Regions from separate parts of the Homo sapiens genome. Here regions 1, 2, 3, 4, 5 and 7 are each linked to region 6. Evidence: promoter capture Hi-C in 16 types of primary human blood cells and fetal thymus (Javierre and others, 2016). All regions are on one chromosome and are shown on one strand. Each heading gives the region's core, a stretch centred on a gene start or on the middle of the fragment in contact. The rest is flanking DNA. Distances are from core to core; before and after follow the strand shown. Region 1 has its middle 33 kb from the start of OR56A1. Region 2 holds the start of OR56A1 (olfactory receptor family 56 subfamily A member 1). Region 3 has its middle 3.2 kb from the start of OR52L1. Region 4 has its middle 16 kb from the start of OR56A1. Region 5 holds the start of OR56A5 (olfactory receptor family 56 subfamily A member 5). Region 6 holds the start of CAVIN3 (caveolae associated protein 3). Region 7 holds the start of OR56A4 (olfactory receptor family 56 subfamily A member 4).

Region 1 (3,469 bases), core at 674-3,173, 260 kb before region 6:
TTCATGGCAGAAAGATCCCTGCTGATTCATCACTATCTCGCATGCAAAGAAGTGATAAAGAAATCCTAGATGTGTCAGAAATAAGGGGATTCCTGTGGTCACTGGTAGTCACTTCTGCTCCTAGCAGGCAGGGAGGCCTCTATGGGATGTGACTTGTCTCTCTCTCTCTTTAATCTCTTTCTCAGCAGTGATCTGGACTCTATGATAGTCGGGAGGAAAGGAGACAAGAACCTAGGCAGAAAAAGAGCAGTGGAGGACACAGAAATAGTGGGTCCATGATAATGACCTAATAAGAGAGGAAGATACAGAAATCAAGCACTAAGAGGCAGAGCTTCACTGCACAAATCGGAGACACATAGATAATCAATAAAGTAAGCCTGGCAAAGGGCACTGTCCTACTGGTCTCTGGATTGTCTTTGAGGATGTGCCCTTTAAAGTCTTGGGTCAACCTGGAGGGAGACTCAGCAGCACAAAGAAAACTAGGAAAGGGAGAAAATTCCCAGATTCAGGAAGGTTCTGTTATAGCCCTCCCTGCTCATCTCCAGGAACACCCTGAGTCCTCTGTTCAACCTCCACAATGGTCTTCTGCCTTAGCTTATGTGTAACAATGATAAAGAGGACTTTCTCTTCAGAAGGGCTGCACAGCAGTCTCTGAATGCCAAAGAGGACATCAAATGCATCCCTCGAGGTCTGTACAGCTAAAGTTTCCCAAAGATATGAAACATGAGTACTAGCTTTGGCAACACATGGGTAAACTGTATCTACATGCATGATATTTGATGGTGAGGATGCCACCTAGGACCATGCTAAATGGTCCTGTGAATGCCTCAGGCTGATCATGAAGGCTTAAAGAGATTGGTAGGCACCTGTAGGCACACAAGTTAACTTGCAGCAATGAGCCGTCCCCTAATCTCTCTCCATCTGTATTCTTTCTTATCTTTCTTTTTTTCCCACTGTCATAGAGTCCAGGCCACTGTTAAGAAGGAGATTAAGGATAGAGAAATAGGTCACATTTCACAGAAGAGCCTCCCTTCCCACTAGCATCTAAATGGTAGAAACTAGGAGAGGCTTCATTTTGAGAAGTCAGGCCCGGAGAGAGCAACTACTTTAACTCAGGGGGAAATAAAGACTACGAAGAAGTGTCAGACCAGACGTATTGGGAAACTCAGAGTCACACTAGCCAAGCCAAAAAATAACCTCTGTCACAGGGAAAATGAGAAGGGCAGGAGTCAGCTGGCTGTAGTCTTCCCCCACCATGAGCCCCAAAACTGACCTCATTTTTCACACCTGAATTTCTGTGCACCAGGGGTCGCTGGTTCTGTCATCGTCACCCTGAAAGGAAGGTCATTCTTGATACCTTACCAAGGCAGTGATGGTGACTGTGAGCAAGGCACTGGGCAGGCAGGATGTTATTACCAACTGGCAGGTCCCAGAGCTCTCACAGACACACCTGGGCAAAGCCAAAAGTAGCCCCTAGATTGACTAGAGGAACACAGAGCTAAAGTTACAGCCCACAGGGATGGGTGATTGGACAGAGAGGCCAAGCAGGGAGAGTGACTCCTGCACCTAACCAGGTGGCCCATATCTGTTCAGCGTTGTTCATTACCCCTAAGCCTGTACATCCTGTTGGTGATAGGAAACCTTGTGCAGTGAGCTGGGAAATTTCACATTGCTCTGTGAGCTCAGACTTCTCATTCTCACAGAACAATCTTAGACCCCAGGAAATGCTTTAGTGAATGCTGTGGCTCAATGTGCTTATTCCTCCAGGTGCAGGTAGTGTTGGCTTCTGGAAGCTGATAACTAAGTCACTCTCCTTTGGCTAAAGAGAGCAGTCTCGCCTAAGATTACTTTTCCTTCCCCAAGCAGCTCATAGCCAATGACTGGTGATATAAGAATACAAAGTCCTGGCCCCCTTTCTTCATCTTAAACAACACTGAGGAGTCATTCTAACTCATGAGGTCCTATTTGATTAGCTAAGTCACCTGAGACAACTCGATCATAGTTTAATTTCTTCTTCAGCCCCTCTCACTCCATGACAGTTTAATTTCACTCCTCTCACTCCATGACAGTCATTGTTACCATATATATGTCACAATAAACTTCCTGCATGCAAATCTCTGCTCCAGAGTCTGTTTCTGGGGAAGCCAACCTAAGACAAATGCTGCCAGCCTCAGGTTGAGTTGAGCACTTTGCTTCTCCTCTATAGGATAGTGACAAACCCAAGGGCCTCAAACCCATTGCCATGGTACATGTGGGATAAATAGGGCTCCTCCAACAGTCCCTCCAAGGAAGTTCCCAATGAGATGGGCTGAGGCTTCCTTTATCATATTTTCCCATCATAAATAGACCCTTCTGTTAGTTCCATCTCTGATTGAAGCAGCTTCCCACTCTACCCAGTGGCCATATTCTCCTTGGGAACAATGCCTCAAGTGCACAGTCCTTCCATTCATCCAGTCAACAAGTATCTCATTCACAGCTTGTGGGGAGCCCTATTTATTCATTTATTCAATAAATATTAAATATATACTAATTCCATGTACTCTGCTAGATTTTGGAAAAAACAAACGATATGATAAAATGGTTCTCATGGGTCTTGGGATGATATATGTTAAGTATATGATCATAGAATTAATTACAGTTATAAGTGTTATATATTAAAACTATAATGTTTTAAAAGCATATAATAGAAGGACCTCCCCAGTATGGGGACTTCAGGAAAGCCCTCCCTAATTTAAGTTAGTGACCAGAAGACTTGGTTAAAGTGAAGGGCAATATGGAGATAGGGTGCGTACACAAAACATGAGCAGAAGAAAAAGGACTCTGGTAATTTCAAAGACCTGAAAGAATTTTTAAAATTAGAGATTGTAGTACTCAGGACTGAGCCTGGAGTGCAAGCAGGAACCCGAGCATACTGGGTCTTTTGGGCCATGTTAAAGGGCCATGGAAATCATGAAGGATTTTAAGCAGAGGATTGAGATATGATTAACATCTCATTAACAAAATGACATCTTAGGAAAATGGAGAGGCCAAGGCTAAGCATAGATGGCAGGAGATCTTTGGGGAAGAAAATTCAGTGATCTCTACAGAGGTTTAAGGATGTGTCATGAGAATGGGTAGATGAGGTAGGTATCTTTGGGAATAAAGAAATTGAGAATATGAAAAGCCAGAGTGTTCAATGGATTATCCACATAAATACTGATGTCTCCCACCAGGGTCATGGGTGGCAAAATAAAAACAGAGAAGATGTGGACCATGTCATCATTTAATGAAGGCGAGTAGAGGAGAGATAACAGTAACCAGAAGTGATAGAGGATGATATGAGTGAGTGACATGAACCTCAAAGAAGCACCAGTCTTTGCTTATTTGTTTGTTTGTTTGCTTTTACAGGAAAGAACTGAAAATTGTATTTGAGAACAAAGACACTAAACTTACCACCATGCCAAAAGTAGAAGAGATATGAGAAACTAAA
Region 2 (3,877 bases), core at 1,200-3,699, 290 kb before region 6:
AAAAAAAAGGGTAGTGACAGGCAGTAACCTCACTATATGTTAAAACATATTACAAACACGCAACAAATTAGGCCAGTATGTTACCAGTGTAAGAAAAGCAATGGTAGATGATAAGTTTTTTAATAAATCATTTTGGAGAAAAATAGCTTTAATTAGGTCTTTGCTTTCTACTATACACCAATATAATTTGAGATGGATATTTTTGTTACATCTCTTACCCAAACTCATGGTATACTAGAAGAAAATAGAATATAAATTTGATTAAGTCATCCCTTTGCTAAAACTTCAATCTATATGAATATAACTATTCATTTCCCACAACCTGAGCCTGAACATCCTAGTGCTCCTGGAATAAAACTGAAAAAAAAAAAAGGAAAGAAGAGGCTAGTTTTACTATAAATTTGTGATCATTAACCTTAAATGTGCCTTCAATAAATATTGCACCCTACAAATCTTCCCTAATCAACTTTCTCCTCTAGAAAAAATTATTTCCCAAATGTCTTCATTTTTTTCAAACCTGAAACTCTACTTCTTTCAGAAGGTGACATCAAATACCACGTCATGGAGAAAGTAGAAAGTAATCAGTAAAATTTTCCTCAACTTTTCAAAATAAAATCTACAAATCTAAAATCATAGTGAGATACATATTACCCTAGTCAGAATGGCTATTATCAAAAATACAAAAAATAACAGATATTTGCAAGGATGCCAACATGTATAAGGGAACTTTTATATGCAATTGGTGGGAATGTAAATTAGTACAGCCTCAAAGGAAAACAGTATGGAAATTCCTGAAAGAGATAAAAATAGAACTACCCTTACATCCAAAAGTCCTACTACTAGGTATCTACCTAAAAGAAAAGAAAACGATATATCAAAAAGATAATTGTACTGGTATGTTTATCACAGCACTATACACAATAGCAAAGATATGGAATCAACCCAAGAGTTCAACAACAGATGATAGGATAAAGAAAATATGGCATACACACAATGGAATACTACTCAGCTATTAAGAAGAATGAAATCATGTCTTTTGCAGCAACGTAGATAGAACTGGAGGCCATTATCTTAAATGAAACAAGCCAGACACAAAAAGACAAATATTGCATGTTCTCACTCATAAGTATGTGTTCAAAATGTGTACATATAGATGTAGAGAGTGAAATGATTGACAATGGAGACTCAGAAGGGTGAGGCGGGTGAGAGGGGGTGGATAATGAGAAATTACTTAATGAGAATAATGTACATCATTCAGGTGATGGATACCCTAAAAGCCCTGACTTAACTACTATACAATCTATGCATGGAACAAAATTGCACTTTGATCCTATAAATTTATATAAAATTTTGTAAGACTTATAAATAATGTGTATATACTCTCATCCTTTTCTTGTTTCCTTTCATTAAAATAAATAATCTGTCCATCTTCAAGAATTGATCCCATCTCTCCCAGCTTTGAATTCTGGCTCTTTCTCTAACTCTCCCCTTCCCTTCATGCACAAACCTCTCACAAGCATTTACACTCACTGTCTCCATTCCCTCACCTTACATCCATTCCACAACTCACTTCAATTTGGCTTCCATCTCCATTAGTTCCACAAAATAGCTCTCAGAAATCACCTACAGCTTCCCTATTGTTAAATCTTGTTGAAACAGTTGATCAAATCCTCTTCCTTGAAACACTCTCTTTGGCCTAATTCATATATCACAGACTTCTAGTTTACCTTGTACCTCCTGGTCACTCCCTCTCATTTTCTCGAACACATCCATCATCCACTACCTTGACGTCAGTTTAAAGCTTCAGTCCTACATTTTCTTCGCTTTTCTTCTTTCCTCTCTGATATTCTGTTTTCCCTTCTTCCACTTCTTTTATCTTGTCTATGTCATTAGACAATTACCATCTCTATTACTAAATTACTGAATTATGTTTCTTACTTAGACCTCTCCAGAAGCCTACTTTATGTATCAACCTGGGTTTCCCAAAGATATTCAAAGCTCACCAAGTCCAAAATTTAAAAACCTGGTCTTTTGCCAGCATCTCAGTGACTGGTGTAAATATTTGTCAGTTTTAGAAGCCAGCGCCCAGAAAATGTCTTGAACATTTATTCTACCCATTGAAAATGATACGAAGTACATGATGAAACCACTAAGACATGTCATTTTCCCTTTTAATTAGCCCTGGAATCCATCCACTTCTCCATATCCACTCTCACCATCCAAGTACTATTACCTCGAGTAAAAAGTAAATATTGCCTCCTAATGCAGTCTAGGTTTCTTTATAAACCATTCTCTACATTGAAATCAAGGAAATGTTTTTAAATATAAATATTACCAGTCATCTGATTAAAATATTTCAGTGGCTTCTCATTGCTAATATTATAAAAAGGAAATTTTTTACTTGAACTTCATGAGACCATAAGTTCATGAGGGAAGAAACCATGTGTGGTTTTTCTTTTATCATCACTATATAAACAGGGTATAGATAGATTGCTAGGTACACATAGTTAACTGACTACATTATGAAAGGAAGGAAGGAAGGAAAAGGAAGGAGGAAGGGAGGGAGGGGAGGAAGGAAAGCAGGCAATGCCATATATTATCTACCTCCTTCCTCATTTTCCAGTTCCATCTAACACCCCATCTCCCTTGCTCCCTGAGCTTCAGCCACACCGTCCTTTCAGATCTTCGAACGTTACATGAGCTTTCTGATCCCACTTCTCTTGGAAGGCTGTGCATCTTATGCTTCTACACAACACTTACTTTCTCCTCATCCTTTACATCTCAATTCAAATACTCTCTTCTCTGAGAGGTTTGTTCTAACCCCCTTTACACAAGATCAAGTCCTCCTATTTTATGTTTCTGTAGTACTTTGAACCATCCTCATCATCTGTAGTTATACATTTATATGATAAGTTGCTTACATACTCCTTCTTCCAATGCCCAATTAGACATTTCATGCCATGAAAATAACATCAATTAGCCCAGTGCTTGACATGAAATGGCTAAAAATATTTGTAGAGTGAGTTAATTAGACATATGAGCAGAATAATAGGAAGGCACAAAGGAAAATTTCTGAACTCAACCCTAGAGGAAAAGAGAAGCTTTCCTAAAGCTGCTAACAACTTAGCTGAGTTTTATTTCAATAGATGTGGAGGATTTACATGCATTAAATCTGTGTAGTGTATTGAAGATATAAAAAATGGATTATGTGAAAGCATGGAGATGAGTCTGAGAATAACTTTGGAAGGAAATTCTATGCAATATTTAATCTGACTGGAGCCAAAAGGATGAGGAGTTGAAAGAAAGAGCCAAAAATGGAGTTGATAAAAGAAAAAGCCAGATCTTAAGTACATTTTCTATGCTGAAGATTTTAGAACTAGTCATATGGATGAAAAGAAATGGAAAAAAATATTTCCATTAGAAGAGAGACATGACCAGATTTAGGGTACGTACAGAAAGATCACTCTGGACACATTATTATGCATGAACTTGGGTAAGGCAAGAGAGCAGAAATAGAAAGAATGGCGGCCGCAATAGCCAAGGTGAGAAGTGACGTGCAACTGAACAAAGGCTGAGGCACTGAGGATGGGAAGAAGGTGAATCTTCCAGAAGTCATATAGACAGAACTTATTGACAGATTTGTTTTAAAGGAGAAAATAGGTGAGAAGCCCAGAGTGACCCCCGGTTTACTAGCTTGAGTAAATAAGTTGCATCACCAAGATGTAAAATACAGCTAAATGAGTAAGATTAGTGTGTACTGGGATATGTCAAGAACGAGGTGTTTATAATCGCCACACATAGATTTGTTTTCGGCTGTTTCAAACTGAAGAGTTTGAGAAAATTAGAAGGATCGTAGTTTAGGACATAAATTCAGAAA
Region 3 (3,863 bases), core at 310-2,809, 330 kb before region 6:
CTGACTTATCTCTAGAAATTCTATCAGTGTCTTAATGGTTTGTTTTTTTAAAGAAACATATCTTATTATACTTTATAATTATAACATAGCATGGTGAACATTTCACAATGTAGTGAGATAAATAAAAGCAATGGAGGAAGACAGACTTAGTTTAAATTTTGTCCATTTCATATTCTAGGAATAAAACCTTGGCAGGATACTAAAACTCTCTCAGTCTTGATTTCCTTATTTTATAACTAACATCAATCTTACAGGTTTATTGTAAACATTAATTAAGTAATATATGTAAAGTCTTGATATCTAGATTAGTCTACAAATTATAGTTATAATTATTTTAATATTAGCAATAGAAGATGACTGAGAATTAGACCACAGGCTTCTTTCTTTTCTTCTTTGTCTCCATGACTCTGCTTCTCTTTTTCAAACTTTTGATATGTTTACCTCTCATCATGATATTATAACAAACAATTCAGTGTCTTTGACAACCGCATGTTAACATGAAGTATCAACTTTGTCCATGGGATTCACCCTTGAAATTTACTAAAAGAAAAAACTTGAAACTGGATATGTGTATGTAGGTATGTTTGTCTTAAAGGACAGGCGTAGTCTGAAATAACTGTATTTTTCTCTGTTGGAGTGGTGGTGCACATGTGCGTGTAAAGATTAAAAAGTCAAGAATGACTTAGTTCTTGTGGATAATGCATCCATAGATTACTCAGAGCTCTTTTTGTACAAATTAATGATGACAATCATATTGCCCTAAAACTCTGAATATGATAGCTATAAAGTCTGAAATGCCACGTGGGCATATATCTCCCAAGTTTCTCTGTTTTTCTTCTAGAATCAACTTGAAATAACAATGACATTTTTATTGAGACATCCAGGGGAATCTCATAATCTTACAAAAATTCACCTCTCAGTGCTTAACATTCCACATAGAGAGAAAGTCCATTGTCTTTTTTGCCTACCTCCTTCTGTTGCACGCTTCAGCCCATTTCTCATTTTTTAGCTAAGGAGTCAGAGAACAGCTGTGCATTTGTGGAAGGCACTCAAGACTTGAATAGTAGCAGTGTGAGCAGAGCAGTGAGGCTAAAACCAAACTAGCCCTGGGGCTGCTGAAATAAGTAAATAAATAAGTAGAGAAGTAAATAAAGTAAATAAAGTAAGAAGTAAGTAAATAAAGCAGAGAAGTAAATTAAGTAAACAAATAAGCGGAAAAGCAGAGACACATGTAACTGAGTATAACCGGCTTCTACTTTGTGTTGCTTGGCTCGTAAGCCTAGGGTAAAAGTCTGCAAGTGCTTAGTAAATGTTAATTTTTTAACTTATTTTAATTTAATTTCTGACTCAGAGTAGGGGAGGGTGGGAGGTGGATAAGGCATAAAAAAATCCCATATTGGGCACAATGTACACTATTCAGATAATAGGTACACTAAAAAGCCCAGACTTCATCACTATACAATTCATCCATGTAACCAAAACCACTTATACTCTTAAAGCTCTTGAATTTTTTAAATAAATTGCAATTAATTGTTATTAAAGTAAACAGGAGGTCCCGCTATGATTCTTAGAGGAAAAGCAGAAAGGACTTTATTCCCAGGAACCTAAAGGCAAAGCTGTATTTAGTTATTCAACTACAAAGCAGAGGACAATTACCAAAGAGTAGATGTTGTTCAATTGGTACTTATTCATCTAATTCAACCCAAGCAACCTTTCTTTTGTGAAGTTGTGCTCAAATTCTGTAAGGTAGTATGACATGTCTCCTTTTCTTTCCTATTGTAATGCCTTTACCACTTTGTCCCTGCATTAAGACCTCACACTCTAAGCCAGGCATCATGTCAGTCTTTAAAGAGCAGGGACTCTGCATTACTTATTTCAGCAGCCCCAGAGCAAGCTCCAGGAGCATCCGGAATCTAGTGAGTAATCAGTAATGTTGGCTGAATAAGTAAACACTCATATTATTAGATTAAAAAATAAATAAGTGCACTAGTGTCTTAAAAGACTGAGAATCACAGGAAGGTGATAAGGCAGAGGCTAAATTTAAGCATAGGAATCATGTAGCAAACAGTGGCGTGTCTTTTGAGGGTGTCACTGATTGAGCCTCGATATTCCTCACCTTAAGTGATGCTCTGGGTGCTTCATGGCAGAAAGAGATCTGCTGAATCTCTGCCATAAGAGAAGATGGTGAAATCCTGGATGTGTTCAGAAATAAGAGGGTTTCTTTGGTCCCTAGTAATCACTCTGCACTGCTTCTAGCAGGAAGAGAGGCTCCATCTATGGGATATAATCTATCCCTCTCTCCTCAATCTCCTTCTTAACAGTGGCCTGATCTCTATGATAATAGGGTAAAAAAGAAGAGGCAAGAACTTACAGAAACAGTAGGGGAGGGAGGGCACAGAAAGAGTGGGTCCATGACAATGACCTAATAAAAGACGAAGATACAAAAATCAAACATTAAGAGGCAGAGCTCCACTCACAACATGGATAATAAAGTAAGCCTGGCACAGGGCACTGTCCTTCTGGTCTCTGGGCTGTCTTTGATGATGTGCCCTTTAAAGACTCAGGTCAGCCTGGAGGGAGACTGCAACACAGAGAGAACTAGGAAAGGGAGAAAATTCTCAGACTCTGGAAGGTCTGGGAATTTTCATGAAGAGTTTTCTGGAAAATTCAAGAAGGTTCCACTACAGCCCTCCCTGCTTAGCCCCAGGAACTCCCTAAGTCTCCAGTTCAATCTCCATGATGAAATTCTGCCCTAGCTTGTGGGGAACAATGATGAAGAGGATTTTCTATTCAGAATGGCTGCACAGCAGTCTCTGAATATCAAAGAGGACATCAAATGCATCCCTCAAGGTCTATGCAGCTAAAATTTTCCAAAGATATGAAACATGAGTACTAGCTCTGGCAAGACTTGAGTAAAGGTAGCAAATCAGCTGTATCTACATACGCAATACATATGGTGAGGATGCCACCTAGGACCATGCCAAATGGCCCTGTGAATGCCTCAGGCTGACCATGAAGGGTTAAAGACATTGGTAGGTGTCCACAGGCTCACAGGTTAGCTCTCAGCCCTCCCCTAATCATTTTCCATCTATATTCTTTTCTCTCCCTTTCCCCCACTGTCATAGAGTCCAGGCCACTGTTAACAAGGAGATTAAAGAGAGAGGGACAGGTCACATTTCATAGAAGAGCCTCCATGTCCACTAGCATCTAAATGGTAGAAGCCAGGAGGAGAAAGTTTGTTTGAGGAGTCAGGCCAGGAGAGAACAACTATTCTAACTCAGAGAAATAAGCTTAAGACTACTAAGAAGTGTCAGACCAGAGGTATTGGGAGAGCCACACTACACAAGCTGAGAAATAACCCCTGTCACAAGGGCTCTGAGAAGGGCAGAATTCAGCTGGCCATAGTCTTCCCCCAACTGTAAACCCAGAAACTGACCTCATTTTCCACTGCTGAATTCCTGTGCACCAACTTGTCACTGTTTCTGTCATCTTCATCTGAAAGGAAAGTTTATCCTTGATACTTTCCCAGGGCAGTGGTGGTGACTGTGAGCACCACTGGGCAAGCAGGATATTATTACCAATTGGCAGGTCCCAGAGGACTCATAGACAACCTGCACAAAGCCTAAGTTAGCCCCCAGATTGGCTGGAAAGGCACAGAGCTAAGGATACAGCCCACAGGGGTAGGTGATTGGACAGAGAGGCCAAGCAGGGAGTGGCTCCTGCACCTAACCACGTGGACCGTGTCTGTCCAATGTTGGTCATTACCTGTAAGCCTGTATGTCCTGACAGTGTGCTAGGAAACCTCATGCAGTGAGCTGGGAAATTTCACATTGCTCTGTGAGCTCAGACTTCTCATTCTCACG
Region 4 (3,336 bases), core at 810-3,309, 270 kb before region 6:
ATGTTTCAAATGCTTTTAAGTTAATACTTTTGGGATCTACTCACCAGAACTGGTGTTTAAGGACCTCTTAATACAGTGGCCCTTGCTTTCAGCCTATGGAATTTTGCAAATAAGAATTATCTCTTACCTTTGGGTAAGGTTCTTAAATGAGCCTGAACCTCAGTTTTCTATAACCCATGTAAATAATGACAGCGTTGCCTACCATCTACAATAATATGTTGTTTCTTCACCCATTTTCACCAGATTATGACATCCAGAAATTTAACAATATGCCATACATACATTCCCCACACTCCTGGTTCTTGAGCTCCAAAGCATATGGGGTGTGGTTTTGAGTACACAGAATGCCCCCAAATCACCACAGTCAGTTTGACCACTTCCCACACTGCTGGTCTTCTCATTCCTACCTCTGCCAGCTGGATCCTCAGTGTCCTGGTCTTGTCATAAAGAATTTCAAGGTTTGTGAGCCTTCCACTGGGCATAAACTAGTACTATGATTAATATCTTTTGGTGACAGAAGCCTGGGCAGTCAGAAAAAGATTGGCAACATCTCTGGGTTCTGTTCCTCTGTTTGGTTCTTTTTGACTCTGAAGGTGGAGGGTGATTAGAGAAGATCTATTGACAGCAACAAATTCATAAAAATGATGGAGAGATCCTGGCCTACAGAGCAGAACCAGGGCTTCAATGGTGTCTGAGGAATTGATGCCCCACCACTCATCAGATGTGACCTTTGTCAGTATTTCTCCCTAAACTTGTGTTTTCTAATATATAAAGTGGAATAATAATCCTACCCTGCAGAATTTTTGTGAGGATGAGATTGTTCAAATATGTAAATATCTAAACACAAAGTTAAATCTCTAAGAATGTTAGTTACATGAGCTAGGCAAATGAATTTATGTCAGGTACTAAGGAGCCCTCACTAATTCCTGATACTGGAGAGAGAGAAATGGGTAGGAAATACTCAGTATTTAAGCATTAGTTTATTTTCTGGAATCACAGCTTCTGAAATAGAAACAGTAATAGGTGCTTCTATGGAGAGTCCCTTCCGTGTTTTCAAAGGCCCCTCTGCAGCAACTTCTAAAATTCCTTCTTTAACTCTTTAGTTTGAAATCCACATATGATAGGGTTTAATGCAGGAGGACTAAAGGGATGAAGGACATTAAACAGGATCAGGATGTCCATGGGGACCTTCTTTCTGGCCACATTTGTCAACACCACAACCAGCAGGTGCTGAAGAAGAGGATGAGGATAAAGTGGGAGCCACATGTGCTCAGGGCCTTCACTGCCACCCCCTCCACCTTGAATCTAAGCACAGCTCTTAGAATGAAGGTGTAGGAGAGGAAGATGAGGATGAAATCCGAGCCCAGGAAGGTCCAACCAGCCACAAATTGGTAGAGTCTGTTAAGGGTGAAATTATCACAGGAGAGCCTGGACACAGACAGGTTGGCACAGATGCAGTTCTCAATCACATTTTTCCTACAGTAATGGAGCTGGGCAGAGAGAATAGGAACAGGTGAAAGCAGCAAAGCATTCTGCACCACAATGAAGACACTAGCTTTGGCCACAAATTGATGAGTGATGATGGACAGGTACTGCAGTGGGTGGCAGATGGCCACATAATGATCATAGTCCTTGACCATGAATGTGCAGGACTCCATGGGGAGGAAACTGTTCATGATGAACATCTGAAGGAAGCAGGCAGGGAAGCCGATCGACCTAAGATCAAACCAGAAGATGGCCAGGACCTTGGGGATGACGGTGAGGCAGAGCACGATGTCCAGCAGGGAGAGGAGGCTGGGCAGGTAGTACAGGGGCAGGTGCAGAGAGGCCTCCAGGTGGATGGTGATGGGGGGGGTGGGTGTTGGTCCCCATGGCCAGGAGGAAAGGAGGCTGAGGGGCAGGGACAGCAAGTGCTGCCAACTCTGAAAGTTGGGGAAGCAGATGAGGAGGAATTCAGAGACTGGGACAGTGGAGTCATCGCTGGGTAATGTCATGAAATAAATTCTCAGTTGAGAAAATTTCACCTGGATTTTTGTATGATAAGACACATGAATTAGGTCAATGGAAAACAAAGTTGTCAAAATATTTGCTAACACTTTCTCATCCAGAAAATTGATGAGATACTGATAGGAGATATAGATGAGAAATGGAAAAATGTATGATATACTCCCAATCCTATTATAAAGTAGAAGAAAATTAAGTTAAACACTGATTAAATATAAAAGAGAATCACTCAAACCTCTGTCATTCTGACTTCCTGTACTGCTGACACAACTCATCCTGGACATACTTAATCCAAGCCTGCACAAGTGCAATTCATTGTTTCTATAGAAAGTTAGGCTCAAAGACAGGCTCTTCTCATTAAAATGTGTAACTGCCAACCTCAAATGAGTACTTAATATACATATTACATACTCATCACAATAATCTTCTCTGGTTAATTCATTCCTCAACCCATTTCAAGCAACTTTTCAAATTTTCAAAGTTCTTTTGAAATACAAAATCTCCTCCTCTCTCAGATAACTCTCTAACCACTTCATAAAGACAGCAGAAACATCAGATGCAAGTCCTCTACTTCCCAAGATAGATTCATAAACCCATCAACATCTACATCCTTGATCTCTTCATTACATCAGTAGAATCAAGGATCTATCCCTCCTCCAAATAGCTATCCTTGACCTCACATTTGGATGCTATCTACCTTGACCTTAGGAACCTTGACTTACGAATCATCCTGCCCATTCCCTATGTATTAAACTTCTCCTAAATCCTTCCCATAAATATTCAAAATGTCCAAGTCTTTCATATCCTAATTATTTTCTTTATCTGTCCCCCATCTCCATTTAGTATAAAAACCATGATTTTATTTTGGGGGGAAATATACTAAATCTCTTTCTTCTTCTTTCACACCCAAACTTAAGGGTCCAAAAGAGGCAAAGGACATCTAAAAGGGGACAAGTGACTGTTGGCTTCAGTAGTCCAACTGAGAAGTGATCAGTGAGTGAATAAATGGCTCTGAGATGGCTCTGAAGATGAGGGAAAGGGGCATATCTTAGAGGTATAAATATGACAGACAGCGATTAGACTACTTGTATAGAAGAAAAGAGGGTAGGATTCTAAAACTGCACTGTCCAATCTGACTTAAATGACTAAGTAAATTTCACAAGACAAAAAAATAGGCTTTGAAAAGATTTGATGTATGTTGCAGAGGTAGAAATTATAGAACCAATTTTGATATGTTCAGCTTATTGGGTGTATAAACTATCACAATATATATGACATTTAATGTTGTAGAAAGTAGTTTGATTTCATGTGAAAGCTCAAAGATAGAGAATT
Region 5 (3,765 bases), core at 770-3,269, 350 kb before region 6:
ATTCATCAAAATAACTAAATATGTAAAGCATTATATTAAAGCTCTAGAATATACAAAGTTGAAGAGATGAATAAAACTCTTCACCAGACTCAGAGGAGTTTATAATCTACTACCAAAGGGAGATACACACATGACTCAAGAAGGTCAGATTAATTCCATTGGGGTAAATAAAGGATGGGTTTGTGGAGTAGGTGGAGTTTAAACTGAGACTCATAAGATGGGCATAATTTTCCAAATGAAAAGAGTGGTGTTGTTTTTTATGTGGAAGAGGATACTGGAACACAGACTTTAAGAAAAACATATAGGAGGGACATAATGTTAAAAAAAATGAGCTGGGAGCTGACCTGCATGATAGGTAAACAGAAGAGTGAAAAATTTTGTATTTTGATTAGGATCAGTCTTTGAAGTTGAGAAGGAGGGAAGATAGAAATCAAAACTATTGTTTTGGTGAAAGACAATACTATAGAAATAATAAATTGGGCCAGTCGTGGTGACTCACACCTGTAATCACAGCACTTTGGGAGGCTGAGGCAGGTGGATCGCTTGAGCCCAGGAGTTCAAGACCAACCTCAGCAACATGGTGAAACCCCGTCTCTACAAAAAAAAAAAAAAAAAAAAACCGGGCATGGTGGTGCACACCTGTAGTCCCAGCTACTTGGGAGGCTGAGGTGGGAGAATCACTTAAGCCTGGGAGACAGAGGTTGCAGTGAGCCAAGATCATGGCACTGAACTCCAGCCTGGGCGATAGAGTAAGACCCTGTCTCCCTATCTCAAAAAAAGAAACAAGAAAAGAAAAGATAAACTGACTTATAAGTCTTCCAAGAATAATTTGATTATCATAGATTAGGAGACATTCCGAAATGATTCAAAAATAATATCTATGAAGTGCTCTATTACTAACCAAAAAGGGGCCTAGCTACTAAATGTTACTTAATCCCAGGAAATATTGGTCAGTATATAGGTCCTACCTATATACTGATCAGAGCATGATCAGGATAAAAATTGCAAAGTGTAAAACATACTTATCCTTGTTCTAAAAACTCACTAATTCAGATGTCTGGATCCTATGGGAAGCTATGCTGGCCAGGGACAGGACATGAAGATTGAGACAAGAGGACTGAAAGTAGGATGAGAAAGACGGTTTAACTGTATATCTAAGACAAATAGGAAAGAGTAGGAATAAGATGGTGTCAGAAATCTGATGGAAAAGTCAGGTAGGATAGTATGAAGTCAGAAGTTGGTAAAATATATCTTAAAAAAGGACACACAGATTCACTTAAAGCAACACACACACACACACACACACACACACATAAATATGAGTCATTTTAAGATGTAAAAATCACTAGGAAAAAAAACTATAAGAAATTCACACTCCAAATAAGTAGCATTAGATAAAAATATTAACAAGATCTGTCAAGGACAGAGGAGGCAGTGAATGTCACATGTTATTCACTCTACATAAGAATCAAAGTTCTTGAGTCAACATCTATATGTCCACAAGAGATCCATTCATGGCAAAAAAAAAAAAAATTATTCACGTTGAGCTGAGTCAGGGAAAACCAAGACATCTAACACATATGTATGTATTAAACAATACAGGAATTGAGAAACATTTAAAATAATTGGAATTATATTTATCCTTTGTTTGAAAACCATACAATTCTAAGCTCCAGTGATTATGGCTTGTCAATTCGTACTCACATAGATGAAGTCAAGAAAAACTTCCAAACAATTCTAGAATGCCAAAACACTAAGATTCCAGTCAGTGAAACAGAAAGCAGGATCCAACGAGTAGATATCCCTATAATCAATTGAAACACTGAAGAAAGCCAAGTCTAAACTTATTCTCGCAGTAACAATTTAAATTTTCTATGCATCATAACAATTATTCTCCAATATCAATTTCTGTTTTCAAGGTCAGGTTGCATTCATTTTATTTTTTACAACCTCCTCAGCAGGTTCTGGATTCCCTGCTTGATCTCCTTGGTTCTCACACCATAAACAATGGGGTTCAGAGCTGGGGGAATAAGGTGGTGCAGGATGTTGAGCAGGATGGGGACATCCGGAGGAATTCTCTTCCTGGCCAGGTTAGTGATGACCAGAACCAGCAGGACTGTGGTGAAGAAGAGGATGAGGATGAAGTGGGAACCACAAGTACCTAGAGCTTTGGCCATATCTCCCTCACCCTTAATCCTTAGCACAGTTTTCAAGATAAAAAAGTAAGAGAGAACAATAAGGATGAGGTCAGAGCCCAGCAGGGTCCAACCTATAACAAACTGGTAGCTCTGATTCAAGGTGATGTCATCACAAGAGAGTTTAGACACAGACACGTTAGTACAGATGCAGTTCTTGATGATGTGTCCTGCACAGTATCTGAGTCGAGAAGAAAGTATGGGGATAGGCATAGTAAGAAGGCCATTCCTGGCCACAACAAAGATGGCAGCCCTAGCGACAAATTGATCAGTGATGATGGATGAGTACTGTAGGGGCTTGCAGATGGCCACATAGCGGTCATAGGCCATGATCATGAATGTGCAGGACTCCATAGTCAGAAAACTGTTCATGATGAACACCTGAAGGAAGCAGGCAGGGAAGCTGATTGATCTGAGGTCAAACCAGAAGATGGCCAGGACCTTGGGGATGACGGTGAGGCAGAGTACGATGTCCAGCAGGGAGAGGAGGCTGAGCAGGTAGTACAGGGGCTGGTGCAGAGAGGCTTCCAGATAGATGGTGATCAGAAGGGTGGCATTGGCCCCCATGGCCAGGAGGAAGAGGAGGCTGAGGGGCAGAGACAGCCAGTGCTGCCAGCTCTGGAAACTGGGGAAACAAATGAGGAAGAATTCAAAGACTGGGGAAGTGGAGTTGTTGCTGGGTAATGTCATGAAATAAATCCTCAGCTGAGAAAATTTCACCTGAAATTGTGTTTGATAAGACACAGGAATTAGAAATAGAAAACAAAGCTGTTAAAATATTTGCTAACATTTTCTAATTTATAAAATGTATGAGATACAGATGACCAATCCCAAATGAAGGCAAAGTTTAGTAAATATTAACATAAATAGTGAAAGGTTTAGTAAATTATTTCTGAAGTTAATTTAGAAAAGCAAATAGACTAGACAAAGGTTTAGAAGGAAAATGATTTAAAAAAACCTCATTAAAACATACTGTAAAATACAAAAAAAATTCCAAATTATACTGACAAAGCAAATTGAATAATTATAGATCCACAGGCTAGAAACACTCATAAGTTTACAGAGTAATCTAGAATTAATAAATATGTCATAAAATAATTTAATTGCAGGGTCCTTTCAGTAAGTAGTGCATAATTTGTTAGATGGGGGAAAATAATTATTCCTCTCTTTTTATTACACACCAAAGTACATTTGAGATGGAAAAAATATATAATATACTCCCAACCCTATTACAAACCTGAGGAAAATAAAAGCAAATATTGATTAAATATATAGAGGAACTCCCAAACTCCCTATCACTCTGACATATGGTACTGTGTCACAACCCATCCTAGACATATTTAATCCAAGCCTGCACAAGTGCAATTCAATGTTCCTATAGAAAGATAGGCTCAAAGGTTATGCTGTTTTCATTAACATTTATAACCACTAACCTAAAATGAGAACTTAACACACATATTCATGACAATAACCTTCTCTGGTTAATTCATTCCTCTATCTGCTTCAAGCAATTTTCCATATTTTCTATTATTTTCAAATACTAAATCTCCTCTTCTCTCAGATAACCTCT
Region 6 (3,323 bases), core at 1-2,500:
TCCAGCGTGGGCTCCAGCGCAGGCTGGGCTTCCGGCTGGGCTTCAGCGCTCCGGCCAGGCCCAAGGCGAGGCGGCTTGACCGGGGTGGGCGGTGGCGCTGCAGGGCCTTTCCGGCCCGAAAGGGCCCTTCGGAGGCTCTGTACCTTCTGCAATCCGGTGCGCCGCAGCCGCTGGGCCCTGGACTCCACCGGCTCCTCGTCCGAGCTCTCTCCAACTTCGGCCTCCAGCTGCTCTGGGCCCAGCTCGGACTGGTCCGCCGGGCCCAAGGGCTCTGGTGCCTTCTGGAAAGCGCTGGCTGGGACTTCACCCTCCTCCTGCATGTGACGGACACAGCACTGATCCTGGCAGCTCCTTACCCCCAGCAGCCCGAAACTCACTCCTTAATTACACAAGGGAAACCTTTTACCTCCGCAGCCAGAGTCTGGGGGGAAAGGCAGGCGTGGGAAGGTAAGGGGAGGGAAAGCTGCGTGCGAACTGCAAAACGCTGTAAAGTAGGTGAGGCCTGGTGAGGGGCGAGAAGAGGATAGTGCCCGCAGTCACGGAATGCCCTTTCAACCACCGTTATTTTAGGGATTGGCTGGGACTCAGACCAAATTCTGCGGACGTGGCCTGAGCTAGAGCTGGGCGGGCTTGGATTGGCCAGGCGGGGCTCAGGCGTGAGAGGGAGGGATGGGGCTGGGTCTTGGGAAGTGGGTGCGGCTCTGTGAGTCTGTTCCACAGCAACAGACGGCGGGAGGGGTCAGGAATGTGGGTGTGGTAGGTGGATGGAAGCGGGGAGCCCCCAGCTGGTGGCCCACAGGCCGGCAAAGGCCTCGGATTGGGGACCGTTTGAGGTCACTGACCTTGAAGAGCAGAACGTGGAGCTTCCCGCGCGCCACCAGCAGCCCGTGGTTGGCCTCCAGCCGCTGCACCTGGGCTGCGCGGCGCACCGCGCGCTCTTGGGCGGCGTTGGCGTGCGAGCTCACGCGCTCCGCCTTGGCCAGCAGCTGCGCCAAGGTGTTGCTGGTGGTGTCGTGGCTGCGACTCAGAGCGCCCAGGCCGCTCTGGATGCGGCGCACGGACCCTGCCAGGCCTCCCTGCCTTCGAGCCAGGCCTCCCTGCCGCTCCCGCAGAGTCTCCAGCATGGAGGCCAGCTTCTCCAGCAGGGTCACCACCGTCACGGCGTGCACGGGACCCCCCGCCGGCGCCTCGGGCACAGGCCCCCGCTCCAACGCACTCTCCCTCATGATCCCTGACCGCTCTGCTCCGTCTGCCTGCAACTGCTGGCCGCACTACGGTCAGGGGCCTCCTTTCCCTGGCTCCTCCCCAGCTCCAGCTGTGACTCAGGCAGGCGGAGTTGGCCTTCTGGGGCGGCGGGAGGGCGCGAGGGCGTGGGGATGTTGGCAGCGGGGTCTCTTGAAAGCGTTTCGCCTTCCGCTGTCCCGCGCCGGGGGCCTGCTGGGAAGCCTGTTGGCCCCAAATCGGCCCCCTGCAAACCCTCTCACTCTGAGTTTGAGTTACCCTCCTCCGCTCCAATTCCCTGGTGTGCCTGTTTCAGTTCTCCACTGCAAAGGGCGAGTCACGGAAATTTTTATTTCATGCATCTTAGTGGGCGCAGAGACTGTGTTGGCACGGCAAAGAGATAACCAGAGGGGCCTCCGTCGCCGTCCACTTTCGGCCTCCCACACCAGTGAAGATTGCCCCCAGGCTGGATGCAGGCGACAGGGAGGCCCTGGAACATTCTGCTTACAGATCGCGAACTGTCAAGGCCCGAGGCCCCGCTTTGTGACTTGGACAGGCTGCTCATTGTGGGCTGGCGGGCGGGGCATCCTCTGGTGTTTTCCTAATAGTCATCTCCAGGGTTTAGCCTCAGGCTTCGTTTCCTGCTTCTTTATTTCGTCCTCTTGGGTAGCATTATCTGGTTTCTTTTCTCTAGTTTTCTGCCCTCTCTTTCTTTGGGTTTCACTGGTAAATCTCAGCCGCCCCGGCCCCAGCACCCAAGCTTGGAGGATAAGCAGGACACCTTCACCTCTTTTAAAATCCTTAAAAGCGTTAGACTAGGCACTGGTCTTTGCTTTGATAGAGGTTACTTGGGCTCCTGCCTGACTTTTTTTGCTTGTTTGTTTGTTTCTTGTGTTCTGTGGAACTGCGGAGAGTAAAGATTTGAAATTGCTGCTGCAGAGAGGGAGAGAGTGGGCATGGAGGATCCAGTTAATGATGTGGATTGTGAATTTCTAATGTCAGCAGTTCGAAACATCCCATGCCTTAGCCGGGCGCGGTGGCTCATGCTTGTAATCCCACCACTTTGGGAGGCCGAGGGGGGAGGATCACGTGAGGCAGGGAGTTCCAGACCAGCCTGGGCAACATGGCAAAACCCCGTCTCTACTAAAAATACAAAAATTAGCAGGGCGTTGTGACACACGCCTGTAATCCCAGCTACTCGGGAGGGCTGAGGCAGAAGAATCGTTTGAACCTGGGAGGCAGAGAATGCAGTAAACCAAGATTGCTCCACTGCACTACAGCCTGGAGGACAGAGCAAGACTCCATCTCAAAAAAAAAAGAAAAGAAAAAAGAAAATCCCGTGCCTTGTTTGTAGCAATACTTGGCAAACCGTCTCACAAATGCAAGTAATCCATTAATCCTGATGATCTCTCTCCCTCTTCCTCTTCTCACTGAACCTGTGAGGGCCACTTGTTGACAACTGTGGAAGAAACTTGTGTCACTCTGGAAATAGTTACATGGGCCTGAAGTGCCACAGACGTGGGCAGCTAATGCCAGAAATCTGGTGATGCTAAGCTGATGGCTGATTTCTACAAATACAAGGCCATAAGCCTGACCCCTGCTGCTTAATACAAGAGAAAATAAGCTCTCTTGGGAATCTGGTGGGAATCACCATCTCTTCCAGTGAAACTACATTTACCCAGAGAGATCCATCAGGGATGTACCAGTTAAAATGCTTTCAGACTGAGGGAACAAAAACTCAATTCAAACAGTACTTAGTAACAGGAAACTCAATTCAAACATAATTGAAAAAGAGGATTGGTAGAGTGGTGATTAAGTGTGAGTCATTCACAGCTCCAAATCTGGTTTTCTACAGTTCTCTCCACTGCTCAACTATGAGCCCCATCCCGCACCTCTCACACTCCCCCATGTCCCCCACACACCCCCTACCCATGTGTATGTGCCCACATACGCACAGGTGTCAGCTTCATTCCAGGCCTCACAACTCTGCACAAGATCTTAAAAAAAAAAGGGGACCATCTTAAAATTTAGGACATTTATTTCCCAGAAGCCTCCCAGAATTTTTACACTTGCCTTCCACTGGGTTACATGGCTTTTCCAAA
Region 7 (3,768 bases), core at 556-3,055, 310 kb before region 6:
CACAAACACTGAGACCATAGCAGATAGGTCAAAGGCGAATCGTGGAAGGTAGGGAGGCTTTTTGGAGAGTCCCAAATAGTTCAAAGGAAAAGTGATTAAGATCTGAACAAAAGTAATAACCATGTAAATGGAGAAGAAAGAGTAATTTTGAGGGGTGAGGAGGGCTACAAGAAAATTCAGTGTAAGAAAGATTAAGGAGACAGAGAAAGGCTGCAGTCAGGAATGCCTCCCAGATTTTTTAACGAATACAGGAAGACATATGTTCTTTTGGACTTCCAGTAGCACTGATAGATTCTTCCAGGTAATAATATATTTTCAGCCTTGTTTCATAGTTACCTTGTAATTCCTTAATAGCTGGAATGATTTTTCCTCCCTCTGAATTTTCCTTAGTGAAATTGAGGCCTCCTAATCTGAGAAATGAAGAATTGTTGACCATCTGGGGCATTGTTTTCGATCTTCAGTATGCCAACTCCATCAGTTCATACCCTAGACTGATATTCACAAAGGAGTGGTCATTGTGGTTATTCATTCTAGGTGTCAATGAGCAAAACATGGTATCTGACCATGAGTCATTAACAGTCTGGAAAAGTCAGACAGATTCTGAACTAACCAAAATGGCAATGGAAGATTTGAGCCCAGCTATGATTGCCTAGAAGAAGCAGTCACCTAGGTTCATAGATGAATGTAGGGAAGAAAGGAAGATTATGACCTAGCTAGGCACAGAGCCTTGACCTCATAGCTATGATATAGTTAGGAGTCTTTGAGCCTACAGAAGTTTTCAGTCTACAAGCCATGAAATGACTTAGCCTCAGCTCTGAAGGAAATCACAGCCATAGGTCAGTAATGCTTGTACCAGAACCTAAGTACTGTGGCAAGGTTGTCATCTACTACACTAGGCCTTATTGAAAGAGTTCTATATCCTTTTCACACCAGGCTCCTGGATTCCCCCTCCACTCATCAGCATCCTCTTCCTCATAATTTCCTTGGCCCCACCTTGAGACTCACCAAATTCAGAAGGCTGTACTGCTGCTATTTCTTGCTGTTTTCTACAGGAGCTGCAGAGGCTGATTTTATGGACCCTGACTCCACTAGTCCCTTCCCTCCACACTACTCACAAGAGTTAGTGCCATTATTAGGCACCTGGATCCTGGGGCCCTATGGTCCATGTCCCAGGAGAGTATGTTGTGAAAGGTGTTCAGCATTGGGAGTAGAGTGAGGGTGAAAGAGTTCAAAGGCACTTGGGAAGTCTAATTAACAAAAATGGCATTCATCTAGGTAAAATAAGCCAGACACAGAAAGAAAAATATTGCATAATTTCACATCATGTGTGAAACCTTAAAAAGTCAAATTCACAGAAGCAAAGAGTAGATTGGTGGTTACCAAGGGGCAGGGAGAGAAGGAAATGGAGAGATGTTTGTCAAAGGATATAAAATTTCTGTTACAAGTATGAATAAGTTCTAGAGATCTAATGTGAAGTGTGGGGATGGGAATAATATTTTATCATATGGTTAAAATTTGCTAAGACAATAGATCTTAAGACTTGCCACCACAAGAAAAGGTAACGATGTAAAGCAATGGATGTGCTAATTAGTGTGACTGTAGTATTCAGTGTGATGCACTCTATGTGTATCAAAACATCACTTTTTACACTTTATATATAATTTTATTTTAAAAATAAGAAAGGAAAGATAGGAAGAAAGGAGGGAAGAGAAAGAAAAAGAAAAAGAAATCCTAGAAAAAAAAAGTGTAAGGAAACTGAGTGATGGGAATTCTTTCAGGATAATTTCTCTGAATACACCAGTAAGGAAGAAACTGAATCAGGCTATCCTCAGCACTGTAACTCTAGAGGGAAGTACTAGAGGAACATTCCCACCAATGAAAGGAGCATGGACCGTGGCCAGTTGAGGGGAGCAGAGAGTGCTTTTCCTGTGAACCTTTCTCATGCAGTGGGAGTATCAGTGGTCTGGACCCCAGAGATCCCTGGGAGTGGCCCTCTTCATGCTCATGGTGTCATGTCCAAGATTTTATCTTCATGGCTTTTCTTTGTCTAAACTTTTTGTTTCGTAAGTGTGGTTTCGGACAATGCAATTGTTAACAATACTCACTTTCCATAGAGCAATGCCTGGCATTGCTTCCTTGAAAAAACAAATGGAATGGTCACCAGAACAGTCACCACTCATGCACAATAGGACCTAGAATATAGGCTCTCCTGAAGAATATTCAGGATCATGTGGGCTTTGGGCATAAGAATCTTAGAGAGAGAAGAACAAGTCTTTTTCTAGGACTCATGGTTTCCTCCCCACAACTTCTGAGAAGGAGACATTAGGGCAAAAATGTAGATGGAATATAATCCCACTCCTTACATACAGTAACTCTGGCCGCATCTCTATCTTGCTATGTAGGTGTCTGAGGTAAAGCTCCAAGGACAATGGAAGCATCAAATAAAGTTAGTAGACATGCTAAATGAAGAAAACTATTTCATGAGTGAATAATTGCTCAAGGAAATGTATATTGCTAAGAGCATGCAGTTTAAACTGTGCAAAATATTCTTATCCTCAGAATTTCTTATAAATAAATAATTCCTCTCCACTCTCAGATCATGGGAAGGTTGGGAAGAGAAAATGTGATGCTTTTGTTCGAATGCTTGTTTTACCACTTTCTGGCCGCTTCTACTTGGGCAATGTTAGAGACTCTCAGAACCACAATTTCCTCATCTGAAATATGAGGATAATGAACCTTTCAATACATGGTAGTTGCGAGGATAAAATTCAATTTATTTTTTCATTTAACAAACATTAATCTTGACTCTATAATTTACTAAGCCCTATACTACATGTTATAAATGCAGTACAACAAAGAATCATTCCTGCCATCTTAGAGGGAGACCAAAATGTAACATATAATTACACCAAGGATTGTATTATCCTGTATTTATATCCTGTATATATCCTGTATGTATTTATCATAATAAATCTTCATTGAGATATTAATGGGTCATGTTATTCTGATTATTACCTGTTATTTCATCTAATCCGAATATTAACCAAATGAGAGATATATTATTATAATCCACAATTTACTGATGTAGAATCTAAGTAATGCATGTTGTGAGTTGAATTGTACCCCTAATGAAGATATGTTGAAGTCCTAACCCCTAGCATCTGTTAATGTAATCTTATTTGGAAACAGGGTCTTTGCAGATGTAATAAACTTAAAAGTCACCAGTTAACACAAAGACTGATACATTTCCAGTTCAACCACATCCTGAGAGTATTTACCAAGATCCCATCAGACTCTGCCGTTGATTTTTCTTTCCTCATGCCAGGAAATTGCCAAATTTTTGCTCCATTTCATACTGGTTTCTTCTAGATTGGCAAAAGTCTTCAGAACAAATGAAGCTGTAAATCCAGGGTTTCTCTCTCTCAGTTTTTAACTGCTCCAAAATTTTGATTTTTCCTTCTTAACTCTTCAGTGCTTTTACAAATATGTTTATGTTTGATTAATTCAAGCAGCTTTTATAGTGATGATTTAGCTGGATAAAAATCTGATTATTGACAAGTATTTTACATGTGTATTCAAATTTAATATATTCAATTCAATATATTTCAATTTATTTGAGTTACACACACATACGTGTGAGCACATGCACACACACACACATAATACATTATATATTTCCACAGACTTCTGATGTCTATTGCTGTTAAGAATTGCATTGTCTGTCAAATTGCCGCTCCTCTATAGGTAATGTACTATTTATCCGGCTCT

What was found. The method cuts DNA at HindIII sites, captures the fragments that hold promoters and counts their contacts. A CHiCAGO score of 5 or more calls a contact.
Region 1: a fragment that was not itself captured here is called in contact with the fragment with the promoter of CAVIN3 in region 6 in 1 of 17 cell types (monocytes); the score reaches 5.1 in monocytes.
Region 2: a contact is called between a fragment that was not itself captured here and the fragment with the promoter of CAVIN3 in region 6, in 15 of 17 cell types (monocytes, M2 macrophages, M0 macrophages and 12 more). The highest score is 30.1, in monocytes.
Region 3: a contact is called between a fragment that was not itself captured here and the fragment with the promoter of CAVIN3 in region 6, in 8 of 17 cell types (M2 macrophages, M1 macrophages, monocytes and 5 more). The highest score is 17.2, in M2 macrophages.
Region 4: a contact is called between a fragment that was not itself captured here and the fragment with the promoter of CAVIN3 in region 6, in 4 of 17 cell types (monocytes, M2 macrophages, neutrophils and 1 more). The highest score is 8.1, in monocytes.
Region 5: a fragment that was not itself captured here is called in contact with the fragment with the promoter of CAVIN3 in region 6 in 1 of 17 cell types (neutrophils); the score reaches 5.2 in neutrophils.
Region 7: a contact is called between a fragment that was not itself captured here and the fragment with the promoter of CAVIN3 in region 6, in 6 of 17 cell types (monocytes, neutrophils, M2 macrophages and 3 more). The highest score is 11.6, in monocytes.

What each region holds. Positions count from the first base shown.
Region 1 is chr11:6,061,569-6,065,037 of GRCh38, forward strand. No RefSeq gene overlaps it. Among named protein-coding and RNA genes, the nearest start is that of OR56A1, 33 kb to the left of the region's middle. The HindIII fragment of the contact is 7,475 bases long and covers 1-3,469 here.
Region 2 is chr11:6,027,942-6,031,818 of GRCh38, forward strand. It overlaps OR56A1 (olfactory receptor family 56 subfamily A member 1), which reads right to left and starts at 2,817. Exons shown (of 2, transcript NM_001388488.1): 1 at 2,761-2,817. All of the region lies in intron 1 of LOC107984303 (a long non-coding RNA gene), which reads left to right. The HindIII fragment of the contact is 1,300 bases long and covers 1,800-3,099 here.
Region 3 is chr11:5,988,272-5,992,134 of GRCh38, forward strand. It overlaps a transcript of OR56A3 not described here. Among named protein-coding and RNA genes, the nearest start is that of OR52L1, 3.2 kb to the left of the region's middle. The HindIII fragment of the contact is 3,457 bases long and covers 1-3,288 here.
Region 4 is chr11:6,044,754-6,048,089 of GRCh38, forward strand. It overlaps the pseudogene OR56A7P. Among named protein-coding and RNA genes, the nearest start is that of OR56A1, 16 kb to the left of the region's middle. The HindIII fragment of the contact is 5,472 bases long and covers 1-3,336 here.
Region 5 is chr11:5,965,610-5,969,374 of GRCh38, forward strand. It overlaps OR56A5 (olfactory receptor family 56 subfamily A member 5), which reads right to left and starts at 2,885. Exons shown (of 1, transcript NM_001146033.1): 1 at 1,944-2,885. The coding sequence starts at 2,885. The coding sequence ends at 1,944. It also overlaps a transcript of OR56A3 not described here. The HindIII fragment of the contact is 6,933 bases long and covers 1-3,765 here.
Region 6 is chr11:6,319,251-6,322,573 of GRCh38, forward strand. CAVIN3 (caveolae associated protein 3) reads right to left here and starts at 1,251. Exons shown (of 2, transcript NM_145040.3): 1 at 843-1,251; 2 at 1-314. The coding sequence starts at 1,226. It overlaps LOC101927825 (a long non-coding RNA gene), which reads left to right. Exons shown (of 7, transcript XR_930998.4): 1 at 1-447. RefSeq lists enhancers at 1-664, 1,208-1,257, 1,468-1,827, 1,838-1,897, 1,928-2,017. The HindIII fragment of the contact is 4,344 bases long and covers 1-1,979 here.
Region 7 is chr11:6,005,913-6,009,680 of GRCh38, forward strand. OR56A4 (olfactory receptor family 56 subfamily A member 4) reads right to left here and starts at 1,034. Exons shown (of 3, transcript NM_001005179.4): 1 at 1,006-1,034; 2 at 337-491. It also overlaps a transcript of OR56A3 not described here. The HindIII fragment of the contact is 8,491 bases long and covers 1-3,768 here.